3 separate regions of the Homo sapiens genome follow, and regions 2 and 3 are each linked to region 1. Evidence: promoter capture Hi-C in human tissues and cell types (Jung and others, 2019). All regions are on one chromosome and are shown on one strand. Each heading gives the region's core, a stretch centred on a gene start or on the middle of the fragment in contact. The rest is flanking DNA. Distances are from core to core; before and after follow the strand shown.

Evidence for each region. The method cuts DNA at HindIII sites, captures the fragments that hold promoters and counts their contacts. A contact is called where the count stands out against the background at its distance.
Region 2: a contact is called between a fragment that was not itself captured here and the fragment with the promoter of CTTN in region 1, in 7 of the 25 tissues and cell types used here (IMR-90 fibroblasts, lymphoblastoid cells, mesendoderm cells and 4 more).
Region 3: a contact is called between a fragment that was not itself captured here and the fragment with the promoter of CTTN in region 1, in 1 of the 25 tissues and cell types used here (mesenchymal stem cells).

The regions. Positions count from the first base shown.
Region 1 is chr11:70,396,340-70,400,577 of GRCh38, forward strand. CTTN (cortactin) reads left to right here and starts at 2,190. Exons shown (of 18, transcript NM_005231.4): 1 at 2,190-2,275. It overlaps CTTN-DT (CTTN divergent transcript), which reads right to left and starts at 2,123. Exons shown (of 3, transcript NR_186321.1): 1 at 1,759-2,123. RefSeq lists silencers at 520-708, 1,806-1,855, 1,956-2,465, 3,047-3,116 and an enhancer at 1,486-1,555. The HindIII fragment of the contact is 28,316 bases long and covers 1-4,238 here.
Region 2 is chr11:70,364,300-70,368,804 of GRCh38, forward strand. The region is part of intron 21 of PPFIA1 (PPFI scaffold protein A1); the gene reads left to right. CTTN-DT (CTTN divergent transcript) reads right to left here. Exons shown (of 3, transcript NR_186321.1): 3 at 1-2,419. Among named protein-coding and RNA genes, the nearest start is that of CTTN-DT, 32 kb to the right of the region's middle. The HindIII fragment of the contact is 5,452 bases long and covers 1-4,110 here.
Region 3 is chr11:70,346,833-70,351,550 of GRCh38, forward strand. PPFIA1 (PPFI scaffold protein A1) reads left to right here. Exons shown (of 28, transcript NM_003626.5): 16 at 1,357-1,588. Among named protein-coding and RNA genes, the nearest start is that of CTTN-DT, 49 kb to the right of the region's middle. The HindIII fragment of the contact is 7,431 bases long and covers 1-4,718 here.

The sequences.
Region 1 (4,238 bases), core at 940-3,439:
GTGACGCACGCCTGTAATCCCAGCTACTCGGGAGGCTGAGGCAGGAGAATTGCTTGAACCCGAGAGGCAGAGGTTGCAGTGAGCTGAGATGGCGCCATTGCACTCCAGCCTGGGCAACAAGAGGGGAACTCCATCTCAAAAAAAAAAAAATTAGCTGAGTGTGGTGGCACGTGCCTGTAGTTCCAGCTACAGCTACTTGGGAGGCTGAGGTGGGAGGATCACTTGAGCCCAGGAGATCGAGGCTGCAGTGAGCCTTGATTGCACCACTGCACTCCAGCCCCTGTCTCTAAAGATTAAACAAACAAACAAAAAAAAACAGTCAGCAATGTAAAAAAAAAAATTTTTTTTTTCAGAGATGGGGTCTATATTGCCCAGGCTGGTCTTGAACTCCTGGGCTCAAGCAATCCTCTGGCCTTGCCGCTCAAAGTGCTGGTATTACAAGCCTGGCCAACAATCCTTGTGCACAGAAAATGCAAATTAGCTGTGTCCAGTTAAATGCAATTGACCTTTGCACTAGAGATAGAGCAGTTTTTGCAAATTCATTTCAGCATTCGTCTTCCGTTTTTTTTTTTTTTGACACAGGGTTTCTGTTGCCCGTGCCGGAGCGGTCCTTTTGCCTCAGCCTCCAGAATAGCTGGGACCACAGGTAAACGTCACCATGCCTGGCTAATTTTTTTCTTAAAAAAAATTTTTTTTTTTTGGTAGAGACAGGGTCTTGCCATGCTGCCCAGGCTGGTCTCAAATTCCTGACCTCCAGCAATCCTCCTGCCTTGGCCTCCCAAAGTGTTGGGATTACAGGCGCGAGGCACTGCATCTGGCCAAATTCTTTAAACAATTTGTAACAACTTATGATGTATTCATTATCGAGTTAAATAAAATATTTGACGTGTTCATTTTATATGTGTATGAAGGTCATGATTTTACCTTTAAAAAAATGGTCAACACCTGACATTTCCTTCCGCCACCCGCACTTCCAATTCATCCTCACATCTGACAGTTTAGCTTTCTAAATGCCTCTTGCATCTATCCACTTCTCCCCATCTTACCTGCCACCAGCGGTCTGCCCGAATTGGCTACATTAGGCTCTACCTGGCCCTTCTCCCATCCATCTTCCACACAGCAGCCAGAGTGATCTCATTACAATTCAAACTTCATTATGTCTTATTTATTTATTTAGCGATGGCGGGCGGGGGCGAGGGTCTCACTATGCTGACCAGGCTGGTCTCGAACTCCTGGCCTTAGGCGATCCTCCCATGTCAGCCTCCCAAAGTGTTATGATTACAGGCGTGGGCCACTGCGCCTGGCCCAAACTTCATGATGTCTCTTATCAGCTTAACTTCCTCCGAGGACTTCCCGTGTCTCCCAGAATAAAGACCGAGGTCTTCGCTGTGCTCTATCGGCCTCTGCATGACCTGGCCCCTCTCACACCACAGCTCCGCTGCACCACTAGCCCTCTACCATGCTGAGCTGAGCCTCCTCCAGTTCCCCTGCTGCAAGACCGTTCCTGCCTTGGGACCTCTGTTGGCCCTGCTGTTGGAACCTGCTGTTGGCCTGCCTGGAAAATTCTTCCCTCCTTACCTTGTTTACTCTTATAGGGCCTTCACATCTTGGCTAACATGTGAATCGCCCAAAGAAACCTCTGGTCTCCCAGGGGTTCAGGTCCTACCGTCTCCCCAATACGATGTTATGAAACTCTCACTTCTTGGCATTTATCTCATTTCCCAGGTGAGTACCCATGTGGTTTAACGCTTGACTCACCTTCTAGGCTGCTATGTCCCTGTGGCCGGGGCTCGCGTCCCTGGCACGCATGTGGCCCTTTCTTGGAGGGGAGGTGCATGGTGAGCGGACGAGGACGGCTGAGGGCGCGCGCGGAGGGAGGATGGAGAGATGAAGAGGCTCCCCGCTCCCGGACTCAGGGCACGTGCGTCTCCTCGGCTGGCTTCCTTCCCCCGGCCCCGGGCAGCGCCGCGGATCCTGAGACCCCGCCGCGGGCTGTGTGCTGCTCAGCGCCCATCCTCTGCGCGCGCAACGCTACTTCCGGGCGAGCTCTGCAGACTCGCCACAGGCCGGGCTAGCGCTTAGCCAGCTGCGGGCGGACCCCCGGGACTCTTGCGGGCCAAGACGCGGGAGGAGGCGGGGCAGGGGGCGGGGTCGCGCGGGGACCCGGATGCGGCCCCGCCCCCGCCCTCGGAACCGGAAGTAGAGCCTGGTGCCTGGGAGCGGCTGGCGCGGCGGAATCCAGGGCCGACCCGGGCCGGACCGACCCCAGGCGGCGGTGAGCGAGCGCGGCGTCCGCCCGGGGTGCAGGCCGGGCTCTGCTTCTTCCCTCCTGTGGCGTCGCCTGGCCGCGAAAGGGGAAGGAAGCGGCGGCCGCAGCGGTCTCACCGCTCTTCCGCTTGCGGTTTCGGGGGCCGGGGCAGAGTGGCGAGGCTTTCCCGGCCTGGGGCGGGGCAGGGCGAGGGCCGGGGGTCCGCGAGGGCCACGAGGACGGGTCTGGGCCCAAGGAGGCCGGGCAGGGGGCAAGGGGGCACGGAGGGCTTGGGGCTGGGGTCCGCGGAGGAAGGTTAGAAAGGGGCCAAATTGGGGTATCAGCTCTGAGGGGAGGGTCCCTGGGCGCCGGGGGGCTCCAGGGCAGGAGAGGGGCCAGGCTGGGAGGGGTCTTGGGTCCGAGGGAATAGGAGAGGGGGATGGGCTCCGAGGGGGAGGGTATTAGGGCCCGAGGGAGAGGGGCTGGGCCTGTGGGGTTCGGGGGTCTGAGCGGAGGGGGCCGGGGTTCGAGGGGCCAAGGAAGGTGGGTGTGGGGGGTCTCAAGGAAAGGGCGAGGGGTCTGAGAGGGAGGTGTCTGGGTGCAGAGGGAAAGGGATGAGGTCCGAGGGGAGGAGATTGGGGTCTGACGGGAAGGGGTCCAGGCGCAGAGCTACTGGGATGGGGTCCGAGGGAAGGGAATTGGGGTTCGAGGGGAAGGGGTCGGGGCTCGGAGGAAAGGTATAGGGTCCGAGGGGAGGGGATTGGGGCTCCAGGGGAAGGGATCCAGGCGCAGGGAAAAGGGATGGGGTCCGCGGGGTCAAGGCGGTTGGGGTGCGCGACTTTGAGGGGCTCGCTGTGGGACGTGGCGGAGCAGCTGGGGATCCGCCCGGCCTGCACCTGAGCGGAGGTTTTGCAATCAGGTCAGTGGAGGCAGCGAGGCGCGGCTGCAGCTAGTCGTGAGGCTCTAAATTTGGAACCGTCCCTCCTTCGGGGTGTGTTTAAAATCACCAGAACGGTGCTTTGGGGCTTTCTGTTACGTTTCCATCACCTGGATAGTCTAAGGGATGCCTGATCCCTGAAGCTGGAAGGCCTTGGGTGAGAAGGGACAGGGCTTCCTCCCGCTGGAATCTGTGGACGTTTGGGGCCCCTTGGGGAGGAATTCATTTTCTGCTGAAGGAAGCTCCGGAGGCATCCGGTGAGCGCTCCCTGGAATCCCATGCGCTCCCTTTGGGCTCAGTGTTGACTTGGCTGCGCAGGCTCTGTCGGGGGGACTTCACCCACTAGGTCCTTCAGGCATGATCCAGCCCTCAAGCCCGGCCGGGCCCAAGGCCGTGGCGCAGGAGGGGCTGGCCGCCTGCCCCTGTCTCCATTCACGTGTTTGACCGTGTGGGTGAGTCACTGGCTCCAGAGCACTGAGTCAGTCCTGTTTCTCCTCTGGTTAGAGAAGTATTCGCCAGATACTCAAGGAACAAGGAAGAGTCTTTTAAGTGGGACTCAATAAAAAGTTGGGGAGGCAGGGTTGTTTTGATATTAGGTCCCCTAGAACTAGAAGCTAACCTTCTGCTATATCTTACTGAAAAGAAATTTCTTTTGACCTGGGGCAGGGGTGCGGTGGCTCACACCTGTAATCCCTGCACTTTGGGAGGTCAAGGTGAGAGGATCGTTTGAGGCCAGGAGTTCCAGACTAGCCTGGGCAACACAGGGAGACCTTGTGTCTACAAAAAAAGAAATTCGCTGGGCATGTTGGCTTGCACCTGTTGTCCTAGCTACTTGGGGCGCTGAGGCAGAGGATCTCAAGCCCAGGAGTTGGAGGCTGCATTGAGCTCGATCGCACCACTGTACTCCAGCCTGGGTGACAGAGCGAGACCCTGTCACCCAGGCTGGAGTGCAGAGGCTCTTCACAGGTGCCATCTAGCACACTGCAACCTTGAACTGCTGGCCTTAAGCGATCCTCCCACCTCAGCCTCCCAAGTAGCTGGGACTGCAGGCCC
Region 2 (4,505 bases), core at 135-2,634, 33 kb before region 1:
AGTCCTTAAGAAGGGTTATCCTACTTGAAAAAGAAGAACTATGTTAATAAAAACAAGAATGGTTATTGGGAGATAAGGGCAGGCCAACTCCAGATTTATAAAGTTGAGACTTTTTACACTGGCTGGATTCCCAGTCTCTGCTTTTAGTCTCCTCAGGAGAAAACAAATTCTTGTTGCAATGAAGAGCCTCACACATTTCTCCAAGGAGCACGTCAGCGCTGGATTTAGGGCTCCCAGTTACCTTACAAAAAAAGTTTTGAGGGGTTTTACTTGTTTTATTTATTTTTTTCTTCTTAATGAACAAATTATGGTGATGAACAATAAGCTTTGTCCTCCCCTGTTGCTCCAAGAGCTCCTTTCCCACAGCCTGCCTCAGGAGCAGTGTCTGAGCTCTTCCCTGGTTGTTTCACATGACAGTGGCCTTGCTGAAAATGAAGGTGCTGAGTGGTTTCTCCCATGTTTATCCACTGTCTTCAGTAATGATGGAGAACACCTCACATAAGGCAGACTCTTCACACCATGTCAAAATGCAAGGAAAAAATCTCCCTCAAGTAGACACACAGGCCACTGTCTGTCTCGTGTCTGGTTCTGATGGCTGCACAGAGCCATCGACACTGCTTAGCAGTGACCCCCTCTGCCCTGTGGCCTGCCTTCAGCCTTTCAGGCCGTCACGGAACATCTGCGAGAAAGCCCTCCAATAGCCAAAGCAAGAGTTTCATGCTGGGTTCTTTGTTGTTAATCTGCTTTAAATATATTGAATCAATAGTTACTTGAGAATTACTCAAAGTTTCCAGAAGTACACAACGTGTTTTCTTCTCTTGATATTTCACATACCTCGGGTAAGCATGGCATCTAAAGCTCTCGTCATCGTGTGCTCTTCTCCTGATGGTGTTGACGACCCAGTGTTAACAGGGAATGGTTATTCTGTACGGGCATCTGAACTGAAAAGTGAGAAGAGCGAACTTTGCCTCCTCGGCCCCTTCTCTGTGCCTGTGGCTTATGCGTGTGCCCCTCTCCTCTTTGTCACTGCTTCCCTTGCCCTGGATGTGGTTGGTGCACTGGGGTCACCTTAGACCACAGGAAATGTCTGGTTAACACACGAAGAGATGGAAACGCTCGCAGCCACGCCGCAAACGGTTAGTCACGCCCCACAGCCTGCACTCCTCCCAGCGCGTTTTCCACTTAAGACCGTCTGGGTTCTTTGCCTTTTTGTTGAAAACAAAATGTTGTTTTCCATTCAGTCGTTCCAGATAAGTATTTCCTTTAGTTATTAGTTGAAATGTGTAAGTAGAATTTGTATTTTATTTTAGATTTTTTCCAGGAACTTCAAGTTGGTAGACTCTGTCTTTTAGAATAGCTTTAATCTAGCTCTCCTTTTGGAGAGATCTCAGTTGAGCCTCCATGTGACTGACTGTGTGGCCCTTTCTCCTTCCATGAATATGCTTGGCACGGAGAGAGTCTGCTCCTTGCATGAGAAGTTGAAATTGTTGGTTTTGCATGAGTTTTGCATGATGCTTTGATAGTCTGAACTTTTTCACTCAGTGAAGCTGCATCTTCCCTGCAGAGTTGCGTTGCCTGCATTACCGAGCTCACCAATACTAATAGTTATGTTCTTTTGCATTCCTAACCACGTAACCCCAGGAAGATGAGGAGGGAAGCTGGGCTCAGGTTGGAGTCTTTCTCTAATATATTCTTCACTACATGTACAGCAGCAAAAAGCAATTGGAGTATGAAAACTTGTGTAATCTACTTTTTTTGATGTTTATAGCATCTTAGTTTATTCGGAGTACAGGATTGTTAATGATTTGAAAGCACTGGTCAAGCAAAACATAGCATCAAAGAGTACGTCTCATGGACAATTTTGAACATTTCTCATATGGTGCCATGGCAGTTATTTTTAATTAATATAGATTGCTTTGTTTAACATATGATCTTGTATACAAAGTCTTGTGGCTTAGGCAGCTTCTGAGATTATGTATGTAATTTCCTGGTAGGGTAATGTTATTACAAGATATACTGATAGGGAAATTGTGCTCTAATAAATTTCCAAACACAAAAATTGGCATAATGACTTTTCCTCTGTGCCTTTGTGTTGATTTTTTACTAAATACTATCCTAATACTATGTCCACTTAAAGATTTTCTTACTAATGGAATCCTAAGGAATTAAGCCTCTTCTTGAGTACTGTATATTTGAATTTTCAGCTTCTCAATTCTTTAACTCACCAAAAACTCTATCCCAACTGTTTTGCATTCTGTATGTTCAGACAGCTTGCCGAAATGTCGTGCGACGCCACTGGCCTTCTGTGGTCAGGGTGTATGTCTCAGTGGCACATTGCAGCCATGAGGCGTGGACAGGCAGTTCTAGAGGCTTTCCCGAATGGACTGTATTTGAGGGCTTCAGAATAATCATTATATATCTGAAAAGAATCAAAAGGATTTTAAATCATAATTTTCCTGATTACGAGGTGATGGTTGAAGCAGCTGTTTCCTTCTCTTGGTACTCCTAAAATCTAGCTCATTAGACTGTCCCCCCACCTTTTTTTATTTTTATTTTTTATTTGTATTTTTTAACAAAATAGAGTAGCTATAATGTGATTCTGTGGGCTTTTTTCTCTCTTGATTTAAGCATTCTGTGCCTCTCCTCCAGATAAATAACCTCATTGTTTAACTTGTTAGATATCCCTTTATAGGACCAATAATGACCATAAATGAATTATACAGGGTACATTTCATAATTACTTAAATTTCAGTATATTTTCCACCAAGGAGCAGAATTTGGTTAATACTTCAGTATGAAATTGCCTGAGTCAGGGACAGGAAGTGTAAATTAAATAAGCTTAACCTTGCTCTTTGCGGTGGAAATATAAACAAGACTGAGCTGTGGTGATGACTCCAGAACTAGCCGACATGCAGTCTAGTGGAAGCTCGTATCACTTTTCCCTCCTTCCTGTCTTCCAGATGGGACTGCCACCTGCTGCCAAGGGCAGTACACAGTGGCCAGCTCTTAAACCAGGGAGAACTTTGAGCTGCGCCGAGAGACTAGGGGAGGAAGACATCAAGGCGTGGTCAAAACCATTTATACCTCATTTAACAAAATTAGTAAGAGTGCTGGCTGCGTGGAGCATCTATGAGCAGGACACCCATGGTCCCCCCGTCATGGAGCTCCCATTTTATGGAGTTCATAAGACTGGGTTGTACTTGTGGCTGTTTCAGTGCTGGGAGTAAACACTGTGCAGTGGGTGTCTCTTCTAGTTCAGATGTTCTCTGGACTGACATCACCTGGTATGTTTTTTTTCCAGAAGGCTGCTAAGGCAGCCCAGGAGAAGAGGTGGGTCTCCCTGGGATGGAGCCTGATCCTTCTGGGAGTTCATGTTATAGGCCACTTCAGGAGTCTGAGCAGAGCATATAATGAGGAAACAGAAACAAGTAGGGTTCTGCTTCCATGCAGTTTTCTATTTAGACAATTCCTTTGTTTAATTTCCCCATTTAAGAATACATAATCAGCAAGCAAGAGAATAATACCAGATATCCCTGCTACATGTATCAGGCCTAGGCCAGGTGTAGTGGCTCACACCTGTAATCCCAGCACTTTGGGAGGCTGAGGCAGGTGGATCGCTTTCAGCCCAGGAGTTCAAGACCAGCCTGGGCAACGTGGGGAAACCCTGTCTCTACAAAAAATATAAAAATTAGCCAGGTATTGTTGGCTTGAGACTGTAGTCCCAGCTGTTTGGGAGGCTTAGGCTGGAAAATCGCTTGAGCCCGGAAAGTGGACGTTACAGTGAGCCGAGATCATGCCACTACACTCCAGCCTGGGTGACAGAGCGAGACCCTGTCTCTAAATAAATAAATAAATATCAGGCCTGTAAGGGTAAGGTTTAGAAGAGTGAATCAAGCATGGTGATGCTGTTAGATAGCTGATAATTACCCAAAAATGTTTGGCATATTTCTCTCTTTTTAGAGAAGGTAGTGAAGCATTTTTTTCTAGTAGAATTTAAACATTCTTTGTTTAAATTAGAGAATTTGAGTTATTGCTTAACTTAAATTTAGAATTTGAGTTATTGCTTCTAGTTTGGACCAAATAACAAATGATACTGGAAGCCATAGTTTCAAGACCAACATGGTGTTAGTTGAGAGTCACTACAAAGATACCATAAGGTAGCTATGACTGGTGACCATAACTTAGTCTTCCTCAGCTGCAGACTTCAGGTACCTCGGGTACCTTCCTTCGATATGTGTGTGTATAGAATGTGTTAGTTCTTTTTCATTGTACACATTTTGCATGCATTCTGTTAGATTTATCCCTGAGGATTTTGCAGGTTTTGATGCCACTGTAAATGATACTTTTTAAATTTCAATTTTCAGTTCATTGCTAGTATTTAGAAATATAGTTCATTTTTATAAATTGGCCTTGCATCCTGCAACTTTGCTTAAACCCACTTATTCTGATAGCTATTTTGTAGATTCCTTTTCTACACTGATAATTTTGTCATCTTCAAATAAAGA
Region 3 (4,718 bases), core at 570-3,069, 50 kb before region 1:
AACTTTAATTGGAAGGGTTATTGCAAGGTTTCTATATTTTAATACTAGAATAATTATTATTGGCACAGTCAAATATTAAAACTGCTGTCTAGTGATCCATGACACTCTAGGAGAGAGGAGCGTTAATCTTGAATTCCAAATTAATGTAGCATGGTTGGCATGAATCCAGAAATTTACATGAGGATGGTAGAGAATCCCATCAGATAACGCTCTGGTTCAAATTTAAACTAAAAAAAAGAACCAACTCAATATTTTCGTTTAGTCTAAACAGTTAAGTGTTGGGAAACTCCTAATTGTTTTGTGCATCTGTTCTTTATATTAGAGTTCCTGATTTCCAGTTGAAGAAATCTGTAGATTTCTTCAGCTTTGCTCTAAGAATAGGGGAGATAAGGGTCATAAAATTTTAAAATATCACTTAGTAAGGAAATTATTAATTGCAACCATAGGAAAAATTGCCATCCAGCCTTCTCCAGAATTTTTGTGTAAATAAGTAAAATCAAATGTTAATGATATCCAGAACCAACAAGACTCAATGGAAGGTTTACTTTTTGTTGTTGTAAGATGTAGTATATTAAAAAAGATTGAGGCCAGTGTGGTGGCTCATGCCAGTAATCCCACCACTTTGGGAGGAGGCTGAGGTTGGAGGATGTCTTGAAGTCAGGAGTTTGAGACCAGCCTTGGCAACATAGGAAGACCTTGTCTCTACAAAAAAAATTTTAAAAGATGAGCCAGGCGTGGTAGTGCATACCTGTTGCCCCAGCTACTTGGGAGGCTGAGGCAGGAGGATCCCTTGAGTCCAGGAGTTCGAGGCTGCAGTGAGCTGTGATCATGCTACTGCACTCCAGCCGGGATGACAGTGTGAGACCCTGTCTGAAAAAATAAAAAATTTGGCCAGGAGCTGTGGCTCGCGCCTGTAATCCCACTACTTTGGGAGGCCGAGGCAGGCGGATCACGAGGTTGGAAGTTCGAGACCAGCCTGGCCAACATGGTGAAACCCCGTGTCTACTAAAAATACGAAAAATTAGCCGGGCATGGTGGCACGCGCCTGTAATCCCAGCTACTCAGGAGGCTGAGGCAGGAGAATTATTTGAACCCAGGAGGCAGAGGTTGCAGTGAGCCGAGATCGCGCCACTGCACTCTAGCCTGGGCAACAGAGCGAGACTCCATCTCAAAAGAAAAATAAATAAATAAAAATTTAAAAAGAGTAGAACATTTTTGCTGAAGTGTTCATTGTTTGAGCAGCTTATTACTGGAGTTTACTCATAGTAATACAGAGTATAAGCATGGTTTTTCTCATGCAAACACATTAATCTGTTTGCCGAAACAGGAGGACTGACTGCTTTTGTTTTATTTTAGGTTGATTCAGGAAGAAAAAGAAAATACAGAGCAGCGGGCAGAGGAGATTGAAAGTCGAGTTGGCAGTGGAAGTCTAGACAATCTTGGTCGTTTTAGATCAATGAGCTCCATTCCCCCCTACCCTGCTTCCTCGCTTGCTAGCTCCTCCCCTCCGGGCAGTGGGCGCTCCACCCCACGAAGGATCCCTCACAGCCCAGCTCGGGAAGTGGACAGACTGGGCGTCATGACCCTTGTACGTATCCGCCCTTTCCCTGCTGTGGCTGCCCTCAGCATACCTGTATGAAATCTTGGACACTACAAATCTACCCACAAGAAAATCAAGTACATTCGTTATTCTAAGAGGTTCAAGATTATAAAAACTAGTTACTATTTAATCATTCAGTTATGACAAACTAATTTTAATATCTGGGGCCGGGCGTGGTGGCTCATGCCTGTGATTCCTCACACTTTGGGAGACTGAGGTGGGCAGATCACTTGAGCCCAGGAGGTCAAAACCAGCTGGGCAACATGGCAAAACCCCATCTTTACAAAAAGTAGCTGGGCCTGGTGGTGTGTGCCTGTAGTCCCAGCTACTCTGGAGGTTGAGGTGGGAGGATCACCTGAGCCCAGGAGGTCGAGGCTACAGTGAGCCATGATTGCATCACTGCCCTCCAGCCTGGGCAGCAGAGTGAGACCCTGTCTCAAAACAAATCCCAAAAAATATAAAAAAAAATTTTAATATTTGGATGACCAGGCTAGCATTACACCATTTGTTTGTGTGACATTAGGCATGACATCTGTGCAAAGTACAGCAGCCAGAAGGGGAAATATTTTCTGTTTTATAGGAAAAACCACTTAGCAAAAGTAAATAAAGGCAGACATCAGAGCATATGGGAAAATGCACAAAGTGGGTCAGTGCATTTCTTTCCTTTCGGAGTGCCCAACCAGCTTCCTGGGCATCTACTACCAAAAAAAAAAAAAAAAAAAAAAGGAAAAACATGAAATGGGTTCTGCATTTGAAGCCGTGAACAAGCCAGCTGCTTCGTGGCTCCCTAAGGAAGCAGATGGGCTTCTTCCCTTCACAGCTTAGGGTCACCTCTCACCTGGAAATGCAATGACCTTCTGGTGTTTGGTGTTTGCAAAGTGTGCAGATCTGAGGAATGTTTAAAACTTTCCTTTGGGCCTGGCATGGTATTTCACGCCTGTAATCCCAGCACTTTGGAGAGGCCAAGGTGGGAGGATTGCTTGAGCTAGGAGTTAAGAGACCAACCTGGGCAACATAGTGAGAACCCCATCTTTATCTAAAAAAAAACCAAACTATCTTGTATATTTAGAATTTGTCAGTGTGTTGTCAATGAAATATTTCATATTTACACCATTTGCTTTTTAACTGTGCTTCTATCATATTTTTTCCCGTTACCATCTATTTTCGTTTTTAGTTGTGTTGTTAGCCAGCATGCAATTAAATCGACGGTGAATCATTTTAGTGGCATATGAGGTGGTAACTAGTCTATTTTGCAGTGTTTTGAAATACTGTTTTTATAATTTACATCATCTACTAATTAGGTAACATTTTAAACTCTTTGACTGTTTTATTTGTGGGCTTGTGCTTATTTCTGTCCAGAGAATTCGTAAAAACAGTTGTGTATGTATATATATTTTTTCTGGTTTTGTAATTCTGTATGCTGGCTGACAGTCTCTATGCTTCCGTCATTGGTTTTGATTTCCTGTCATCCTTTTGTTTTATTATTTTAGCCATCTCCAGATTCATTTTTAATCCAGACCTCAGGTCCCCATCAGTCAGTAGTTTACTCATCCACCTCCCCTCCCAGTTCCACCCCATGCTATAGCGATTCTTCACAGCATGCTCAGGTAACCACGCAACTGTGTGTGTTCGATCATGTTTGTGAGTTTGTGCTGTGATGACTTTATTAATGGGTTGTTTTTTTCTCAGTTAAAAGTATCTTTTTCTCAATGGTAATTTAAATTAGTGTATTACTATATAGTAAGTATGGATACAGGCAAGACATAGGTGTTTAAGAGTTTTTTTACTCAAATTATGTAGGATTTGTGTAATTCATAAGTGTTTCCTACATAACTAATCTAAGCGTAGAATTAATGGAAGCTGTTTACACAAACAGTATGCTTTCTGGTTCTGATGATTGTGTTCAAGACTGTAAATCTCATCAGCCTGTTGAGTCTCATCAACTATCTCTAATAGGTTATTTTTAAATTAAAATATCTTATGTGAATCATAGGATGGATGTAAAGATTCTACCTAATATTATGCTAGCTTTTGTTCTTATATATTTTCACAGGATACCTTGCTTTAAGCAATAAATTTATTTTTGAAAAGTGGTAAATCAAATTCTAGGTAAGGATTTTACATTAATGTCCAACAGGTGATTAACTAAAAGTAGGTTTGTTCAGTTTTATAATTGGTATTGCAGTAACTTCCTCATCCGTTGGAATATTTTTAATTATAACATGGATTTTATTAAAGAAAACTAAGTTATAGAGAGGTTTGGCTTAGAATAGATGATTGTTAGGGCCTTTTATTATATAGAATGCCATATTTTAATAAAACACATGAAATAGAATTTTATCTAAGTAATAATTTATAGTGTTTCTCTAATAAACCTTTAATAACTTATATTTAAATTTTTTGGTGAAAAAATGGTTCTGTATCCAGTTACATTTTCTCTAAATCCTGTCTCCTGTCATTTCTATTTTAATATATTTGCTTATACTGATCCTTGAATTTTTAACTTCAAAGTGTATATAGTAAATCTGGTTTCTCTTCATTTCTTTGCATGCATCTATCAGCCTAGTGATTTAAGGAAACATCGTAGAAAGGTAAATTGTTTAGTAATTTAACATATCTTTGTATCTCCATAATGTATTGAAGAGTACCTATCATATTTTCCATAAATGTAGCATTATGTAGTTGTATAATAATGAATGGTTGGCGTTTTAATGGAAGTGTTTAAAGTGACCTAGCACCTTACTGACAATTGTTCTATTGGAAATTGGTCATTAGCGGTTTTCACAGAACACTGGGACAAATGTAACAGCTTGCCATTCTCTCACCTTTTCAGCCTTCTGATCATTACATGCTTATTCATAGATGTAGTAGTTTTAAAAATAAGAAATTACTAGTGCAAAGCTATAGAATGTAGATGCGGGGGGACCCATTTTCATAATAATCACAGCTAGCATTGGGCTCTTGCTGTATGCCAGGCACTGTGCTGAGTGCTTTCCCAGTCTGGTATAGGCTGAGTGTCCCTGATCTGAGATGCTTAGGGCCAGAGGTATTTCAGATTTCAGATTTGTTTAAATTTTGAAATATTTGCATTACACTTACTAGTTGAGCCTCTCAAATC